Regions from separate parts of the Homo sapiens genome. Here all the other regions are linked to region 1. Evidence: promoter capture Hi-C in 16 types of primary human blood cells and fetal thymus (Javierre and others, 2016). All regions are on one chromosome and are shown on one strand. Each heading gives the region's core, a stretch centred on a gene start or on the middle of the fragment in contact. The rest is flanking DNA. Distances are from core to core; before and after follow the strand shown.

Region 1 (2,638 bases), core at 1-2,500:
CTCTCTCACATGTGTGCATATTTGGGGTACAAGCTCCTGCACTGGTCTCAAATGGGAACAAGGGTCACAGACAGGTCTCGGGCTTTCTGGATACACCCAGGTGGGAGGGTTCTCCTTGCACCTAGATATAACCCCATCCCCTTCCCCATATAAAGCTTGGGAAAAAGCTGGAGGGAGGCCATGGTGGGTGGGGTGGGCTGGGAGTGGGGGTGGCTGGAGACAGCCCAGTCTGCCACCAGTTTTTGTACAGCCTGTAAGCCTTTACATATTTACATAGTTGAAACAACTGCTGCCCCCCCTGCAAAAAAGCCACCAATATTTTGGGACAAGTAAATATTACATGATATTCAAATTCAGTGTCCATAAACACAGTTTTGTTGGAATCCATCCTCTTCTGCTGGTCTCCTAATAACCTGTGACTGCTTCTTGCTAGTTGGGACAGACGGTGTAGGCCGCGAAGTCTCTAATCTTTACTGTCTGGCCTTTACTGAAAGGCTTGCCCATCTCCTACCTGAACCCTCCTGACCACAGACAGGGAGGTGAGTGGGGCCAGCTGTCCGGCCACTGCCCTTAGAGACCAGCCAAATAGAATTAGAGTTTCTCCAGTTTCGGGCTATATATTTGGTCCTCCCCAGACTCTGGGAATACCACCATGGAGCTGGGGGCCAGGCGTGGGGCTCCATCCCTCCCCCCTAAACCTGGAGGGAGGGCCCGCCCTCGAGTGGGCAGGGCCTGGAAGAGGAGAGGCCTCCTAAGGGGCGGTGGGCTCAAGAAGGCTGCGCAGGTGTTTGTGCCCCGACCGGGTGGGCCTGAGGTCCTGCCTCAGCCCTCCCTTACCTTCCTCCGATTCAGGAGCAGAGGAGGAAACGTTCGCTGTCCCTCCTGCCGCCTCCCAATAGTCCTCCCTCTGAGGGCGCTGTCTCCCTCGCACTGCTCCCTACCCAGGGTCCTGTCTCAGCCCAGCCCCCGGCTCCCCTCCTCCCGCCTTCGGGAGGCCAGGCCTTCCTTCCCCTTCGCCCCGGCTTCCAGGCCCCGGGTCCCGGCCGCCCCGCCCCCGGGCCGCGTAGCCCTCCCGCCGCTCACCTGTGCCCACAGGTGTCACCGCACCCGCTGCCCTGCGCCGCCCTCCCCGCCCGCGGGGCTCCCCGTCGCCGTCGGCTCCCCGGCGATGCCAGCCAGCCCCGATGCCCAGCCTGGGACTGGGATCGAGCGGCCCGCGGGAGCCGGGCAGCGCGGGTCCGGGCGAGGAGGGCGGGGACCGGGCTGGCCCCTCCCTACCGCCAGCACCGCTCGGGGCAGAGGGGCAGAGGGGCGGGGCCCTGGGGACCGAGCAGCCCCCGCCCTCACGCAGCCACCGCCTTCCCCGGAGAGGACAGCTCACGTGGCGGTGCCCTCCTTTCCCCTTTTCGGTCGCACCTGAACTCGACACCCGCCGGCCGAGCGGGAGGGCTGGGACCGCGCGCCCTCCACTCCGGGCCAGACCCCCGCGAGGCGCTGCAGTAATGAGGGCTGAGTAAGGGGCGGGGCGCCGCCGGGGGAGGCGGCGAGGGTGACAACCTGTGGCAGGCACCCCTCTCTCCTGCTGGTCGCGGCGAGTGGCCGGCCGTCCGGTCCTCCCCCTGCCTCGGCCTAGACCCCTAAGCAGGCAGGGAGCCCGCCTGCCAGCTGGAGGGGCAGGGGGCCCCGTCGCTGTGTGGAGTCCAAAGTGTGAGCCTTATCTCTCAGAGGACCGGCTGGCCTGCCTGGTGGAAGGTGATACTGGAAGGCTATCCTGGACTTTGCCTTTGCTCCAGGGATAGGCAGCTGAGGCCTGACCCGCACTTCTCCTATGACCTAAGACTCAGGTGGGGGCACCCTCCCAGTTCACCTGCAAATAAGCCCACTCCCGGCTACACCAGGGTCACCCAGCCCTTGCGGTGGCTGCTAAAATAGATGCTGTGGGGCCAGGCGCGATGGCTCACGCCTGTAATCCCAACACTTTGGGAGGCCGAGGCGGGCGGATCACAAGGTCGGGAGATGGAGACCAGCCTGGCCAATATGGTGAAACCCCGACTCTACTAAAAATACAAAAATTAGCTGGGCATGGTGACGGGCGCCTGTAGTCCCAGCTACTTGGGAGGCTGAGGCGGGAGAATCGCTTGAACCTGGGAGGTGGAGGTTGCAGTGAGCCAAGACAGCACTACTGCACTCCAGCCTGGGCAACAGAGTGAAACTCCATCTCAAAAAAAAAAAAAAAAAAAAAGAAAGAAAAAGAAAAAGATGCTGTGGAAGGACTGACACATGCTGGGCATTGCATGAAAGGACCATACTTTATTTTCTTTATTTTTAAAATTTATTTTTTAAAAAGAAAATAGAGACAATATCTTGCTGTGTGGCCCAGGATGGACTCCAACTCCTGGGTTCAAGCGATCCTCCTGCTTCGGTTTCCCCACCTTTTCACTTCTCCAAATCATGGCACCTCGTCTGACAGAAGCACTGGATATTTGAGATAGAAGTGTCCTGTGGATGTGTGGTCATTATAATCTCACAACCATGAAACCCAAGACCCTGTAGTTGGCAGGTGGCAGGTCTGAGGCTCCCAGCCCCTCACCCTGACTGTGGTCTATTTCCTGCCAATGAACTCAACAGTGATTGATAC
Region 2 (2,638 bases), core at 37-2,536, 360 kb after region 1:
ATCAGCGTGAAACAAACTCTGGTCTATGAAGTCCGGACTAGCTGGTGGGGCTGGGAGGTAGTTCCCTTCGTTCATCTCTAGTTCAGTTATCAGCTAGCCAGTTTACTGTTGCTATATCTCAATCCTTCAAGCATTTAACTGGTCGGAAGAGTCTACATAGCAGCCCTGTTCATAGGATACAAGCTGTAAAACTGGGACTCCACTTCTGGTCTGTGTTCTGGGTGTGGGGGCTTTATTATACACTGTCTTCTTGTTTCATGGTTCTGCAGATTGTTTCGTCATCTCCATGGAGTCAAGCTCATGGTTTGAAGTGGCTTTGTGAACCAAACACTGTCTCTGACTTTACCCACTCCTCTTTCCTTCCAGCGTGATGAGACGCTCCAGGATGGCTGTGATACTCACTTCTGCAAGGTCAATGAGAGAGGAGAGTACTTCTGGGAGAAGAGGGTCACAGGCTGCCCACCCTTTGATGAACACAAGTGTCTGGCTGAGGGAGTGAGTACTCATTCTGCTTTCCTCTTTACTGTCTCAATCTCTAAGAACAAGATTCTTCTGAATAGTGTGCATCCCAGCTCCGGCATAATTTCTCAGTGTCTGAGGCACATCTCTGGCCTAGTTGAAGAATCAGTGAGATTACGAAATCAAAGCCTACGGAGAGATAAAATTCTCTGCAATATAGGATGTTTTAAAAAAATATTTTCCTTAAGGGAGGCTGAGTGTGTGATTCTTGAATAAAATGTGAGATCAAACTGATTTTTAGTCTCCCTGGGAATGAAGATCCTGATGACTCAACTGGAAGAGAATTCAGAATCATCAAAATTGTTTCAGCCTGGTCAGGTAGGGTGGTCAAGCTGCTCACATTTATGATAGGAAAGCATAGTTTACATCTGGGCACTTAAGCACAGGGCTGTGAGTTCGGAGCTAAAAATTGGCCCGGAGTGACCTGAAAGCTGTCTACTCTGTACTGTTTGTGCCTAACCTGAAATTTTGCTGTTTTCTTAGGGTAAAATTATGAAAATTCCAGGCACCTGCTGTGACACATGTGAGTGCGTTACTAATATCTTGTCCCTTGAAACCCATCAGAGCAAGTCCAGGGGCTCTTTGCAGCTTGCTCCTTGAAACCCATTAGCAAGCCGCATGACTGTTCTTTGGAGTAAGCTTTATTTCAGAAAGATATTTCGTGACCACTGGTCAGTCATTATGTTCAGTCTTGCAGGGAGCAGCCTCCCCTCCTTGGATGTCATCAGACTGCCCTCTTGAACTCCCTTTTAGATCCCATGGAGCAATCTCTTTCCCCTTTTCCTGCAAACTCCCTCCTGTCTCCAGCTTCTTATGTGCCTTTTCCCTCATAGGATCTTTGATTGCTCATAGTCCTATCCTGGGACGATATGTTCCCTCTCTAACCAAAGCTTCTTGAAGACAGGCACCTTGGATCTATGATCCTGACAGAGTAGACTCTCAACACATATCTATTCATGAGTGTGCTAAAGCTATCTCAAAGAGAAAGCGAAGCCACCAGCTGGCTGACAACAGCCCACATGTGCTGTGGGGGCTGGTCTAAGTTTATCACCCCCTCTTCTTCACTCTGAGCTCCTCTTTACCTCGTAGTTATGTCCTACTGATTGGTTCTCATTGCTCACAGCAGCAGCTTTGGAGACGAGACACAAATCTGCACATCAGACAGTGTTCTTCCCATACATGCTTGTGTTTGTGAGCACAAATAACTTTCAGGATCCCAATGCTAATGCCATAATTTCTGAATATAGAATTACTTGCCTGGACTAAGATTTTTTGTTTTAGATTAGGGTATTTCTTTTCTGCCCTGGGTTCACAGGTCCATGCTTGTTTACAGATAGAGAAAGGAAGAGTGAAAACATGAATACTTTCAGTGTTCAATCATTCATTCTTGACAGCCCCTGCAATTGCTGTAACCAAATCTCAGATCGAGGAAGCACTCTGAAAGCATGTCTTTCTATGATTCCCATTTGAATGGTTTAAGAATGTGAAGTCAGGAAACCATCAGAGAAGAAGAATTCTCTCTAGGCACACTGCACGTGGAATTTGATTAGGAGACTGTTACCTACAAAACCACCACAAAGGGTCTTTGTTGGTCAACTCATTCAAGAGGCTTCGAGATCTTTAATAAGGACAATAAGCCAGGCTCAGGGCCTTAAATCCACAGCAACATAGTATAGTATGCTGGTCTAAATGTTTTTTTTTTTTAATTCATCCTCTTAATGTAATTGGCAGGCTTTCCCTTTACAATGAAATTATCTAGAAATTAGGAGGCAGACTAATATGTAGTTAGGGTTGATTTAGATTTCGAGCCATCTAAGGACAGAAAACTCCCAGTGTTCAGACTGGAATGGTGAGCTGGGATTAAATTTTTGAATTCCCAGTGGGCCAAGTAGAGATTCAGATCTGAATGCCACTAACCCCTGTGTGAAAGGAAACCCCCATGTCAGCAACCTGGAGTCAGCAGTACCCGAAGAGAGGCCTTCACAAAGGTGCCTAGGGATCTTCTCGGTCCCCAGAGAGGCAGGGTATGCCCTTACATCACCATGACTTCGCCTTTCCTCTTACCCCAAGGCAGGAATGAAGAGATAGTAATTATACTTATTGACTACTTCATTGCCCA
Region 3 (2,638 bases), core at 90-2,589, 340 kb after region 1:
CTCCCTGTCTCCCCTTACCATGGGAAGTGGCACCAGCCTGGGAAATGGGTTGAGCTTCCCGGCTGCACCTTCCCACTGATGGCCCACAGTGCTGCTTCTTGGCCGGAGTATCTGAGCTCAGCTCAAACCAATGCTGAGGAAGGGAGGGTGAGTCCCCTGGCTTCTCCAAGGTGCTTGCCTGGGTGCCTCAGTCAGGTGATTTTGACCCAAACTGTTTGAGTGGTGCTCACTGAGACGAGCCCCACTCATCCCCTCCGTGGGCCCTACCCTGTGGTGGGACTTACATGTTAAGCCAGGCTTCACGTCTAGAAACCACCTTCCTGAGAGAAGAGCACATTCCCAATGGGACCCTGGGCTCCAGCCCTGCCCCAGCTTGTTGGACTAACTCTGGTGCCCTGCAGGTCGGCTCCCAGTGGGCCTCCCCGGAGAACCCCTGCCTCATCAATGAGTGTGTCCGAGTGAAGGAGGAGGTCTTTATACAACAAAGGAACGTCTCCTGCCCCCAGCTGGAGGTCCCTGTCTGCCCCTCGGGCTTTCAGCTGAGCTGTAAGACCTCAGCGTGCTGCCCAAGCTGTCGCTGTGGTAAGGCATGCAGGCTGGGGCTGGGCTGGACCGGGCACCACCTTTAAGCCTCTCTTTCCACTTTTGGCTCCTGAATTCTTTGCCTTTTTAGCAACTTAGGGAAATGGATAGGACCGAAATCTTCCCATCTGCTCCTACTGCTTTTATGAGAAAGCAAATTAAATGGGAAAACCATAGGAATTTCCTGAAGATCACTACATGGCAAGACTGGGATTCGGCCCTAGGCTTCTCTGATTTGGAGACCACCTTTGAAATGCTGTGACGTTTCACCCAGGGGAAGGCGTTCAACTTGCCACCCCAACGCTGCCAACAAACAGAAAAATGGCAACAACAACAAAAACTAGTTCTTTCTACCATATCCTGCTCTGAATTTTATTTATTTGTTTGTTTGTTTGTTTGAGGCAGATTCTCACTCTGGAGTGACTGGCGCTATCTCTGGATAGGCTAGAGTGCAGTGGCACTATTTTGGCTCACTGCAACCTTGGCCTCCTGGGTTCAAGCACTTTTCCTGCCTCAGCCTCCAAGTAGCTGGGATTACAGGCGTGCGCCACCACACTCGGCTAATTTTTGTATTTCTAGTAGAGATGTGGTTTTGCTATGTTGGCTGGGCTGGTCTTGAACTCCTGACCTCAAGTGATCTGCCCACCTCGGCCTCCCAGAGTGCTGGGATTACAGGCATGAGCCACTGTGCCTGGCCACTGAATTCTTGAAACTGAAATTTTCAAGAGTAGCGTTTCATTGTTTCATAAACCCAAACATCCTCCCATTCATCCCATCTCTTAAATGTAAATTCACATAAGCAAGCGCTGTCACTTGGAGAACGTACGGGGCTCTTCTCATTGTGGGCTGCATGGGGAAGGGAGGCCGCTGTGGGCTCCAGCAGTAGGACCCCCAGCGCTGGGTTGTGGGGTGGGGGGAAAGGGCCGACCGATACAGGAGGGAGGCCCAGACACGGAGGAGGAGCCCCAAAGAGAGCAGCCTGCTCGCCGGTCTCACCAGGGTGTGTTTTGCCCACTCTCACTCTGCACTTTTCTCTCCCCCAGAGCGCATGGAGGCCTGCATGCTCAATGGCACTGTCATTGGGGTGAGCCGCTGTCCTCTTCTCCAGAGCAAGTGGTGGGGACAGGGAAGGGGGTACTGTGGGAAGGGGAGCAGGCAAGTCATTGTAAAGCAGAAATGAAGGAAACCAGAGAGACCCAACCCCAGCTTTCCACTGCCTGTGGGACGTGCCTGGCATCATGGAGCCCAGGCTAGGACCATCTTCCTGACTCTCCGGGCCTGTCTCACACTCACTTCCTGGCCCCCACCTCAGGCACCTGTGCATTTCTTCTGTGTGCAGAGAAGCACTCTGAAGTCATTGTGCACGTTTTAGTTTGTCCCCTCTGCCACTACCTGGGCTGCCTCTTTGGCATGAAAGTTCTCACTCTTACCATCTTGATACTGGAGGTGGGAGGACGGGAAGGCAGTGGGCCATAGGAGACAGGAGGAGCAGCAGAGCGATGGCTCATGGGAGCTATGGGTGGGTGGGCAGGAGACAGGGTATGAGAGTGAGGTGAGTGGGGGGTTGGGGGATGCTGGGGGGCCTGACCCTGGTGCCTCTGCTTCCAGCCCGGGAAGACTGTGATGATCGATGTGTGCACGACCTGCCGCTGCATGGTGCAGGTGGGGGTCATCTCTGGATTCAAGCTGGAGTGCAGGAAGACCACCTGCAACCCCTGCCCCCTGGTAAGAGAGGCTCAATGGGGACCGAGGGCATGGACTGGACGCGTGTGGGACCCAGGCAGTGGGACCTCACTGCGGTCTTTAAATAAATAAATCTCTCATTATTTTCTGATTATAAACAATAATTGACAATAATAAAGAAGAGACTAAAAATCACCCACCCAAACTGCATGCCTCAGAAATAATTATAATTTTAGTTTTATAAGTTGCAAACATTTTCTTCCTGAGTTTTCAGAATAAACACAGTATTTGCCAGGCTTATGATACTATGTTTACAATTCTGTATCCCTTTATGTATTTTAAGAAACAGCACCACCGTTCTTTGAAAATATTA
Region 4 (2,638 bases), core at 68-2,567, 330 kb after region 1:
ATCACAGTTTCTCACTCCTTACAACAGTCCTGCAAGGCAGGCTTGAGTACGCTCATTTTACAGGTGAGGAAACTGAGGCACAGCGGAATGCAGCCTTTGTTAGAGTTCAGGAGTTCCTGACTTCAAAGCCTTGTGCTGTGGGGCTGTGTGTACCTTCGAGAAGGCTGCTCTCTGCCCTGGGCCGTCTCCCATTTGAAAAATCAGAGAACTGCACTCAGGCCTCTAAAGTCACTGCGGGCATCAAGAATGTGATGCTTTCAAGAGTTTTGCTGTCCTCCCCACCGCTCTTCCTACCCTATTGTCTGAAGTCAATTTCAGAAATAAATGGATTTTTTTCCCCAAGCAACAACCCAATTTCTCCTTTGGCTTGAGAAATGACTAGCAGTGCGATCCAAGAACTCTCATTTTTCTTTCTTTGCTTGGTTTTAGCACTGCCAACAGAGAAGGCTGTAGTGAAAATTTCCGCATGTTAGTTTACAAAGCAATGTGGCAACCACCTTTCTGAAAGCCATTAGAACCTCACAACCTCCTTTCAGCCTGCTTTTGTTTGCCTGTGAGGCTCTGTCAGAGGGCTGGGTCAGGGACTGGCCCTTGCCGGAGGCAGGGAGAGCTGACCTCTGTGAATTCTGGGCTTCGTACCTAGAATGTCCTGTGCCCTTTCTGAACCTCGCTTTGCCCTCAGTTCCTGGAAGCCTGGGTCCCGGACCACCAGCCCTGTCAGATCTGCACATGCCTCAGCGGGCGGAAGGTCAACTGCACAACGCAGCCCTGCCCCACGGCCAAAGGTGAGAGTCCTCCCCTCCCTGGTGCCTTCATGGAGGAACAAGGGCCCCTGCAAGGCCCCCCAGCCACCCATCTTCACCTCTGGCAGAGCAGACTCAAACACTGGCACCTAGAGTCCTAGAGTGGGTGGGCTTCCTTGCCCAGCCTGCATTTCCCATCACTGGGCCTGGGAGCCCCATTCTGCACCTGGGGTCGACATTCTCAGATTAACCCTCGCCTCTGGTCCCCAGCAACGGTCAGACTTAAGAGTCCCCTGGAGGGTAAATGTGAGGGTGTCAACAGGAACATGGGGACACTCATCTGTCAGAGGTCCCGTGGCCTGGATCCTTGTGGGATGACCGTACAGAACTCCTACTAGTTTTCAGTGAGCAAGAACATTTCAAATCCCTCTGAGGCTGTCCCACCACTAATTTCTCTGACTTTTGTGGCCGTTCCTCTCCTCTAGCTCCCACGTGTGGCCTGTGTGAAGTAGCCCGCCTCCGCCAGAATGCAGACCAGTGCTGCCCCGAGTATGAGTGTGGTATGTGTCCCACCAGGGGGATGTCTCCAGGGCCCAACCCTAGCCCCAGGGGGCACCACGTTGAAGGTGCTGAAAGGTGTCTCTGTTCTCAGGCACAGGGTGTGTGAAAGGAGGTGGGTAAGGACCGACTGGATACTCCAAAAAAGTGGAAAGGGTTACCTCTGGAGAATAGGATTTGCTTCCTAGAAGAATCTACTGTAAATTACTAAACACAGGTTTGACAGGATTAATACAAGAATGGGGTGATTACTGGGGACTATGGAGATATACTGAAGAAAAGGTCATGCCAAAGCAACCCATTTTCATTTTCAATAAGATTTTGAGGCTGCTAGATATAGAGAAGACCACACACTGGGCACCTTGAGTTCAGCAGGTTGTTTGCTAGAGGTTTTCATGCTAGCCTTGCAGGCTGCTCTGTGAATAGTGGGCTGAATAATGGTATAAGTCCGTGAATTCAGAGCTGATGGAATTACGGTTAGCATGGCAGGAAATCATTAGTGCCTTTGTCCCAGTCCTGTCCAGTGTGTTTATTGCTTGTACAGATGAAGACCTAAAGCACAGGCTTGTACAATTTGCAGTGATGCAGATATTGAAGGGAGAGCAGATAGATCAGGGGACAGTCCAAGGAACTAAAAGAAAATCATATAATCGGAGAAACTTATTTGTACTCATGAAATTGATCAGAAATAAATAGAAGTCCTGTAGGGGAGGGAGATGTGGCTTGAGAACAATTAATGTAAAGGAGGTCTTAGAATGTTAGCAGTAGAGAGAACTAGAGGGATCATTTACTTCAAGCCCCTCATTTTATAGACATTACTAGTCTCCTACAATGTGCCGGGCACTTTGCCCTTATTATTTTGTGAACTCCTCAGACTGATCCTATAAGGTAGAGTTCCCACCTTCCAGAAGAAGAAACAGGTCTAGAGGATCCAAGTTGACTTGGCTGAGATGTGAAAGCCCTAGTGGATGATAAGAATAATCAGTATGTGACTTGGATTGATCTATCTGTCTGTCTGTCTGTCTGTCTATCTATCTATCTATCTATCTATCTATCTATCTATCTATCTATCCATCTATCCATCCATCCTATGTATTTATCATCTGTCCTATCTCTATCTAACCTATGTATCTATTTATCATCTATCCTGTCTCTATCTATCCTATGTATCTATCATCTATCCTATCTCTATCTAAGCTATATATCTATTTATCATCTATCCTCTATCATCTATCTATCTATCTATCTATCTCTATTGTATCTAGTTATCTATCCTATATCTATGTATGTATCTATCTGTCTGTCTAATCTATCTAACCTGTGTATCTATTTATAAT
Region 5 (2,638 bases), core at 38-2,537, 310 kb after region 1:
TTTTTTAAACTAAAATTTTGTTTATTGTTTGTATATACTCTAGGGTACAAGTAAAATTTTCACAGTAATCTTTTATAATATCAAAAATTCTTTTTAAATAGCGATTTTCTTTTGTCATTTGTTAATTTATATACATGTTTATTATCTTTTTTCTTGATCAAATTAACTCATGATTTGTCTTTCTGGATTTTTTTAAAAATCAAGATTTCAATTTATTTATTATGTTTACTGTTTTTATATTCTCTACTTTATGGATTTCTGCTTTTATCCTTGCTATTTTATGACTTCTTTCCTTGAATTTTCTTTTAGTTTACCTTTTGTGCTTTTCTATTTAATTGGAACTGGGAATTTCATTCATTTTCATTGTTTTATTTTTATTGACAGAAATGTTTACTGTTATGAATTTTCCTAGGATCACTTTATATGTATCCCAATGAGTCTGATATGTAGTGTATTTATTATCATTATTTTCTAAAGAAATTCTGTACTATCTGTTTTTATTGTCCCTTTCACCCAGGATTTATATCATAAATTAAAAAAATTTCCAAGTGTAAAGATCTTTTTAAACAATAATTAAAAAATTTTTAATTTTACTATACTCTGACGAGAGTATCTGTAATAGTTCTACTTTGTGGAAGTTACCGTTATTTTCTTCGTGATCTAATACATGATCAGTTTTTGTGAAGGTGTATTCTCTATTATCAGGGTGTAGAGTATGAGATCCCTCGCTCTCTTCCTGTCACCCCTCCATGAGAACTACATATTTTGATTTTAATGTTTGTCTTCTATAGTCTTACTTACCTTTTCCCCATTTTATCTATCTGGTTCTGAAAGGGATGTCTAAAAGTATCCTGTTATTAGTTTGTCTACCAATGTCTCCTTGCTTCTCCTATAGTTTTTGCTCTATGAAGATGTTGTCTGGTGCATAGATATTCACAGCTGTTATGGCTTCATTGTGAATTATACTGTTCAGAATGCTCTTATTAGTCACATTTAATCTTTTTTTTGGCTAGAATTTTACTTTGTCTGATATCAAAATCTCCATCCCTGTTTTCTTATTGTTTGATATCCTTTGTCTGTCCCTTTACTTTAGCCTTTCTGAATTTTAGTTATATAGCAATAGTTGGGTCTTGCCTTTGAGCCGAATTGAAAACCTTTTTGTTTTAGTAGACAAGTTAAGCCCATTCTCATTTATTGCCATCTTGTGTTTGATCTTCTTTCGTCATTATATTTTATAATTGTTTGTTATATATTTTTCATTTATAAATGTGGTGATACGTTAAGGTGTCTAGGAAGGTTTATGCTTTTGTTCCTGTCATTACCTTTGAAGTTATACCTTTCTAAAATGCCTTCAGGCCCATATTTTTAAATTTAAGCATTCATTAATCAGTTTTTCAGTTTTTAATAGCATTCTTTAACTTCTACCTGTGGCTATCCAACAATCAATGAGGTTATTCTAACTTTTCTTGTTCCCTCCCCTCTCCTCCCATTGTCGAGTTCTATTATTTCTACTGTCACAGCATATAACATTTGCACATTAGTCTTCCATTCTTCGTTTTAGTTTTAGATCTATGACTATATAAATAAAAATGCTCACTTTAGTTGTTTTGTTAACATTTCCTAGTCATCTCTTAGTTGGAGGAAATGTTCTCTAGTAGATTTCTTTTTTTTTTTTTTTTTTTTTTTGAGACAGAGTCTCGCTCTGTGGCTCAGGCTGGAGTGCAGAGGCGCGATCTCGGCTCACTGCAAGCTCCGCCTCCCAGGTTCACGCCATTCTCCTGCCTCAGCCTCCCGAGTAGCTGGGACTACAGGCGCCCGCCACCACGCCTGGCTAATTTTTCGTATTTTTTTTTTTGTAGAGACGGGGTTTCACCGTGTTAGCCGGGATGGTCTCCATCACCTGACCTCGTGATCCGCCTGCCTCGGCCTCCCAAAGTTCTGGGATTCCAGGCGTGAGCCACCGCGCCTGGGTCTCTAGTAGATATCTTAAGAAGGGCTTATGTGTACAGAATTCCATTAATTCCTATGTATTTAAAACTGTTTTTCTATAGCATTGATGCTAGAAGGGCACCTTGGCTGAATACAGAATTCTTGATTCACATTTTCTTTCACTAAATTTCTGAAAAATGCTGCTCCATTGTTGCCTTGCTTTGTATATTGCTTTTGAAAATTCTGATACCAATATAATTCTTTTGTCCTTGTAAATTATTTGATCTTTTTGCCTGAAGGCCTGGAAAATTTTTTCTTTATGTTTGAAGTCTAATAGTGTACTGTAATATGTCTCAGAGTTGACTGTTTTGGGTTAATTTTTCCGGACATCTGGCACATGACTCCCATACATAGATTTGGTTCTTTTTTGATTTCCAGAATGTTTTCATGAGTTATATTCTTTAAGTGTTAGTTCTGTTCCATTGTTTTGTTTTCTCTTTTAAGAGTCCATTTTTTCTCCTGTCTTACATTTTCATTACTGTCTCTTTGACCTTTATACTTTCTTCATTAACTCATTTTCATTCTCTTGATTGGTTTTTTTTTGCTTTTCTCTGATGCTCTTTATTAAATTCTTATTTTGATGTCATCTTCCTTGGGTACTTATAATTTAGTCTTTATTTCAGAGTTGACTTTGCACTTTTATTACCCA
Region 6 (2,638 bases), core at 103-2,602, 290 kb after region 1:
GGGGTTTTGAATCTTTATTCATCTTTCTACAATGTTTTTGCTCCAATTTTTTCTCTCTTCGTTAGGGCCCAACATATCAAACATGTTTTAAAACTCATGCAATTTACATTCTGTTAGAATATGTACTGTAAAGCATTTATCTTCAACAGAACATGTACAAACACAGGTTAGCGTCTACATTTTAGTAACATTTGTTCTTGGAGACACTTGTAAGAAGGCTTGGATTATAATTAAGTATTCATGTTGCTAAAGATGTAGGTTGAAAAGAAATCAGCTTTGAGTGGTTGTGTGGATGGCCTAGAACAACGAGTATATTTTTTCATATCCTAGGATGGGCTAAAGCTTTGGTTTCTAGAATCAAAGGAAGTCGGCTATGTGTGTGTTTTGAAGGTGGGGGGCATGCTATTTGGGGACAGATGTTAAACAATGACATCTCACTTGGATGTGGAATGGTCCATGGGATCTCAAGTTCAGGTGGAACAGAGGAGATTCTGTGGGAATATGGAAGTCATTGTACACTGTAGGGCTCAGAAGTGTCCACAGGTTCTTCCTGAACCATTTTAATTTCTTCGCTCTTTTCTGCAGCCACTGTGATGTTGTCAACCTCACCTGTGAAGCCTGCCAGGAGCCGGGAGGCCTGGTGGTGCCTCCCACAGATGCCCCGGTGAGCCCCACCACTCTGTATGTGGAGGACATCTCGGAACCGCCGTTGCACGATTTCTACTGCAGCAGGCTACTGGACCTGGTCTTCCTGCTGGATGGCTCCTCCAGGCTGTCCGAGGCTGAGTTTGAAGTGCTGAAGGCCTTTGTGGTGGACATGATGGAGCGGCTGCGCATCTCCCAGAAGTGGGTCCGCGTGGCCGTGGTGGAGTACCACGACGGCTCCCACGCCTACATCGGGCTCAAGGACCGGAAGCGACCGTCAGAGCTGCGGCGCATTGCCAGCCAGGTGAAGTATGCGGGCAGCCAGGTGGCCTCCACCAGCGAGGTCTTGAAATACACACTGTTCCAAATCTTCAGCAAGATCGACCGCCCTGAAGCCTCCCGCATCACCCTGCTCCTGATGGCCAGCCAGGAGCCCCAACGGATGTCCCGGAACTTTGTCCGCTACGTCCAGGGCCTGAAGAAGAAGAAGGTCATTGTGATCCCGGTGGGCATTGGGCCCCATGCCAACCTCAAGCAGATCCGCCTCATCGAGAAGCAGGCCCCTGAGAACAAGGCCTTCGTGCTGAGCAGTGTGGATGAGCTGGAGCAGCAAAGGGACGAGATCGTTAGCTACCTCTGTGACCTTGCCCCTGAAGCCCCTCCTCCTACTCTGCCCCCCGACATGGCACAAGTCACTGTGGGCCCGGGGCTCTTGGGGGTTTCGACCCTGGGGCCCAAGAGGAACTCCATGGTTCTGGATGTGGCGTTCGTCCTGGAAGGATCGGACAAAATTGGTGAAGCCGACTTCAACAGGAGCAAGGAGTTCATGGAGGAGGTGATTCAGCGGATGGATGTGGGCCAGGACAGCATCCACGTCACGGTGCTGCAGTACTCCTACATGGTGACTGTGGAGTACCCCTTCAGCGAGGCACAGTCCAAAGGGGACATCCTGCAGCGGGTGCGAGAGATCCGCTACCAGGGCGGCAACAGGACCAACACTGGGCTGGCCCTGCGGTACCTCTCTGACCACAGCTTCTTGGTCAGCCAGGGTGACCGGGAGCAGGCGCCCAACCTGGTCTACATGGTCACCGGAAATCCTGCCTCTGATGAGATCAAGAGGCTGCCTGGAGACATCCAGGTGGTGCCCATTGGAGTGGGCCCTAATGCCAACGTGCAGGAGCTGGAGAGGATTGGCTGGCCCAATGCCCCTATCCTCATCCAGGACTTTGAGACGCTCCCCCGAGAGGCTCCTGACCTGGTGCTGCAGAGGTGCTGCTCCGGAGAGGGGCTGCAGATCCCCACCCTCTCCCCTGCACCTGGTATGCTGGCACCTTGTGTGCAGGTGGGAGGGCTGGGCGAGGGCTGGCATGGCCTTGGTGCTACATGCATCTGCCAAGATACGACTCGGGTTCTAATCCTGGCTTCCCTGGTCTGTGTGGCCTTGGTTGAAACTTGCCTTCAAAGGGCCTGTGTTTCCTCACCTCCCTGGCAGGGAGACAAACTGTGATCCTTTTTCGGGGGAAGATCTTTTCTTATTGTGTGTGCTTCTATAAATTCAAAGGTAATGGAAGCCTATTGTTAACATTTAAACAATGCCAATAAGGAGTAAAAAAAAAAAAAAAATGCAAGTCTTACTTTATCACACAGCCTCTTCCCCACCCAATTCCACCCTCTGCCTTCAAGGTAACCTCTGTTAAAGGTGGTGATGATAAGCTTCATTTTGACCACACTGGGTGGGTGAAATTATTCCGAGTAGCTGACATTCTTCAGGGCAAGACCAGGATGTCAGGTGTCAGGTAGCAGGTGCAGTCTTCAGACACTGGAGTCAGACTGCCTTAGTTTGAATCTTATCTCTGCTACTTGCTAGCTGGGTAATTTTGGGCAAATACTTAACCTCTTTGTATATCGTCTATACAAAGGATGAGGCAAATACTTAACCTCTTTGTATATCATCTATACAAAGGATACACATCTTTGTGTATCCTCATCTATA
Region 7 (2,638 bases), core at 74-2,573, 270 kb after region 1:
GCATCCGTGGGATACCTCAGTCATTCTTATAGCAGCCACTAGGTGGTGGGCCTCAGGCTTAAGTCAGAGCTGACACTGGACGGGGCGATGTGGACATGAACCCTAATTGTGACAGAGGCTTTGAATGCTCTGCTAGAGAGAGGTTTTTCAGCCCTGCCAGCTCCTACCAAGGTGCCATCTTCCCTACTGGGTGCTTAAGCTCATTCCCTCCCAAGAACAGTGGTTCCGGGAGGTAAGAGCTACCAAGAGTGGGGTCAACCTGCATCTTATGCCCTGCACTGTCATCCTGACCCATCAGCTGGGCTTCCAGAGATGCGGGAACACCTCCTGAGGTTGGGTGAAGATGACATTAAGCAGTGGAGGATTCTTCCTATTTCCCTCCCCCCAACCGCCCCAACACACACATGCTCACATACGATTCTAGCCTGGGTCCTTGAAAGCCCTTTGTTCAGCCCAAGATTGCCCTGTTCCCAGGGATTTGTCCAGCTCCAGGCCTGGGAGCTCAGACTTGTCTGGGGAGTGACTGGGTCACGTGGAGCTGGAACTGTTCAGACCAGGAGCTTCTCGCCCTGCAGGGAGCTCTGGAGCCAAGGTGCCACAGTCCTTCACCTGGGGGTGACCCAGGCCTCTTTGAGAACCCCCAAGGCTAGGCCACACCAGGACAGGCACCCAGGGCTGCCCCTTGGAGTCGGGACAGAAGCGTGTCTGCATGTTGAGCTCAGAGTGGGTTTGGCTGACTCTTCTGGGGCTGGTAGTTCTTAGTTCTTTTATTTTCTCAGCCCCAACAGACCGGAGGAATACAACATGCTCACGAAAGTAGTTTCCCGAGGGGTGACGACGGGGAAGTAGAGCATACCCCATGGAGAGTGAACCGGGATACGGGAGACTGGGCAGGAGGGGGCCTGTGGCTTGGACCAGCCCCCAGACTCTAGTTCTGATCGATTTCTACTTATGCCCAATATTTGGCCCTCACCTCCAGAGTGTTAAGTACATATTAATTTTATTCAATATAGTGTTCATTTTCTTTAATTATAAACATAATACATGCTCATTGAAGAACACTTGGAAAAAAATTTTAAAACTGAAAAAGAAAATAAAATCCTCCCACTCGCCTATCCCAGCTCACCACCTGGAGGCAGATTCTGTATTTCCTTCTAGTCTTTTGTGAAATATATATACATTTGGAACCATATGTATATACAGTTTTTCTTCCTGTGTTAAAAATTAACAGCATAAGTATTTCTCACTTCATTTAAGATTCTTCCAAAGGACCATTGTAATAGCACCATAGGATACTGGCGCCTGGTGATTCCTCAATGGATTTAGTCATTTTCCTATTAAGTGTTTCCAATTTTTTTTTGCAATGATAAATAATTCTCCATCAATCTTTGTCCATAATTCTATTTCCCTCAGAGAAATCCTTTCCTTGGGATGGCTAGGTGTAAGAATATGTGCATTTCAAGGCCTCTGGACATGATTTTTTGAAGTACCTTTGCAAAAATGTCCAGGTTACAGTGCCCCAGCAGGGCACGAGAGGGCAGAGGGCAGTCAGTGTCTTTAGTTGACAGGGAGGAGCCATGTAGATGGGAACCCATGTTTGCCAAGCCCTGGCCTGGGCATAGGATCCCTGTCCTGGCTTGGCCTGCAGTGGAAGCTGTCCCCCTGGCTCAGCCCTGGTCCTGGTGCCAGTCCCAGTGCTGGGCTTACCCGTAGGCTCAAGTCTCAGACAACACTTCCTGGAGCGGGCTGGAGGAGGGCTTTAGATCAGTCACTGTGGCCCTGAGGACTTTTGGATTCTTTTCTCTTAGGTCCGGCATGAGAACAGATGTGTGGCCCTGGAAAGGTGTCCCTGCTTCCATCAGGGCAAGGAGTATGCCCCTGGAGAAACAGTGAAGATTGGCTGCAACACTTGGTGAGGCTCAGTGAGGGGCTGCGCCGGGGACCCAGGCCCTGCGGGTGGAGTGAGGGTGCACGCGGCCACAGGACCTTCCGCACTTGCCTCCAGCCCCCTGTGGGAACCTGGTTACTCTCTGCCTTTCCTCCGTGCCTGTGTTTCTCCATCTGTAAAATGGGGAGAATCTTTTTCATCACCTGTGTCCATCCTGCATAGACACTATTCAACAGGTTAGTACAGTAGCCCTTATCCGAAATGCTTGGGACCACAACTGTTTTGGATTTTGGATTATTTTGGACTTTGAAATATTTGCATATACATAATGAGGTGTCTTAGGGATGGGACCTAAATCTAAACATGACATTTATTTATGGTTCATATATACCTTATACACGTTGCCTGAGGGTAAGTTTATACAACATTTTAAATATGTATTTAATGTGTATTTAGTATTTTTAATGTTTGTGCATGAAACAAAGTTTTGTGTACATTGAACCATCAGAAAGTAAAGGTGTCACCCTCTCAGCCACCCATGTGGTGTCATGTTGGTGCTCAAAGTTTTGGGTTTCAGAACATTTTGGACTTCAGAGTTTTGGATTAGGAATGCTCAGCTTGTATTTCTGTTCAGGGAGATGGGCCCCAGGGAAGACAGGGACCTCGCCCCACCAGTCATTGCATTTGGGCCAAGCTGCCAGTGGGCACGGGGTCTGGAGGGTCCTTTCGTTGCAGGCCTTACACTGCCCA

What was found. Contacts are between HindIII fragments. The CHiCAGO score rates a contact against its expected background, and 5 or more counts as called.
Region 2: a contact is called between a fragment that was not itself captured here and the fragment with the promoter of PLEKHG6 in region 1, in 2 of 17 cell types (M0 macrophages and megakaryocytes). The highest score is 6.4, in M0 macrophages.
Region 3: a fragment that was not itself captured here is called in contact with the fragment with the promoter of PLEKHG6 in region 1 in 2 of 17 cell types (M0 macrophages and M1 macrophages); the score reaches 6.9 in M0 macrophages.
Region 4: a contact is called between a fragment that was not itself captured here and the fragment with the promoter of PLEKHG6 in region 1, in 13 of 17 cell types (M0 macrophages, neutrophils, monocytes and 10 more). The highest score is 21.3, in M0 macrophages.
Region 5: a fragment that was not itself captured here is called in contact with the fragment with the promoter of PLEKHG6 in region 1 in 4 of 17 cell types (neutrophils, M0 macrophages, M1 macrophages and 1 more); the score reaches 10.7 in neutrophils.
Region 6: a fragment that was not itself captured here is called in contact with the fragment with the promoter of PLEKHG6 in region 1 in 2 of 17 cell types (M0 macrophages and neutrophils); the score reaches 6.0 in M0 macrophages.
Region 7: a fragment that was not itself captured here is called in contact with the fragment with the promoter of PLEKHG6 in region 1 in 8 of 17 cell types (M0 macrophages, M1 macrophages, M2 macrophages and 5 more); the score reaches 8.9 in M0 macrophages.

Annotation. Positions count from the first base shown.
Region 1 is chr12:6,309,294-6,311,931 of GRCh38, reverse strand. It overlaps PLEKHG6 (pleckstrin homology and RhoGEF domain containing G6), which reads right to left and starts at 1,250. Exons shown (of 16, transcript NM_001384598.1): 1 at 1,084-1,250. RefSeq lists a silencer at 1,304-1,353 and an enhancer at 1,716-2,436. The HindIII fragment of the contact is 5,964 bases long and covers 158-2,638 here.
Region 2 is chr12:5,950,248-5,952,885 of GRCh38, reverse strand. It overlaps VWF (von Willebrand factor), which reads left to right. Exons shown (of 52, transcript NM_000552.5): 49 at 367-495; 50 at 1,003-1,042. Among named protein-coding and RNA genes, the nearest start is that of ANO2, 6.3 kb to the right of the region's middle. The HindIII fragment of the contact is 251 bases long and covers 1,161-1,411 here.
Region 3 is chr12:5,967,155-5,969,792 of GRCh38, reverse strand. VWF (von Willebrand factor) reads left to right here. Exons shown (of 52, transcript NM_000552.5): 45 at 402-582; 46 at 1,626-1,666; 47 at 2,191-2,307. Among named protein-coding and RNA genes, the nearest start is that of ANO2, 23 kb to the right of the region's middle. RefSeq lists enhancers at 1-226, 1,499-2,000. The HindIII fragment of the contact is 7,621 bases long and covers 1-2,638 here.
Region 4 is chr12:5,983,710-5,986,347 of GRCh38, reverse strand. It overlaps VWF (von Willebrand factor), which reads left to right. Exons shown (of 52, transcript NM_000552.5): 39 at 683-785; 40 at 1,229-1,303. Among named protein-coding and RNA genes, the nearest start is that of ANO2, 40 kb to the right of the region's middle. The HindIII fragment of the contact is 7,184 bases long and covers 1-2,638 here.
Region 5 is chr12:5,999,860-6,002,497 of GRCh38, reverse strand. All of the region lies in intron 34 of VWF (von Willebrand factor), which reads left to right. Among named protein-coding and RNA genes, the nearest start is that of SNORA120, 39 kb to the left of the region's middle. The HindIII fragment of the contact is 3,202 bases long and covers 1-2,638 here.
Region 6 is chr12:6,017,691-6,020,328 of GRCh38, reverse strand. It overlaps VWF (von Willebrand factor), which reads left to right. Exons shown (of 52, transcript NM_000552.5): 28 at 586-1,964. Among named protein-coding and RNA genes, the nearest start is that of SNORA120, 21 kb to the left of the region's middle. RefSeq lists an enhancer at 1,281-1,780. The HindIII fragment of the contact is 2,016 bases long and covers 345-2,360 here.
Region 7 is chr12:6,035,662-6,038,299 of GRCh38, reverse strand. VWF (von Willebrand factor) reads left to right here. Exons shown (of 52, transcript NM_000552.5): 19 at 1,809-1,912. Among named protein-coding and RNA genes, the nearest start is that of SNORA120, 3.2 kb to the left of the region's middle. The HindIII fragment of the contact is 5,048 bases long and covers 1-2,638 here.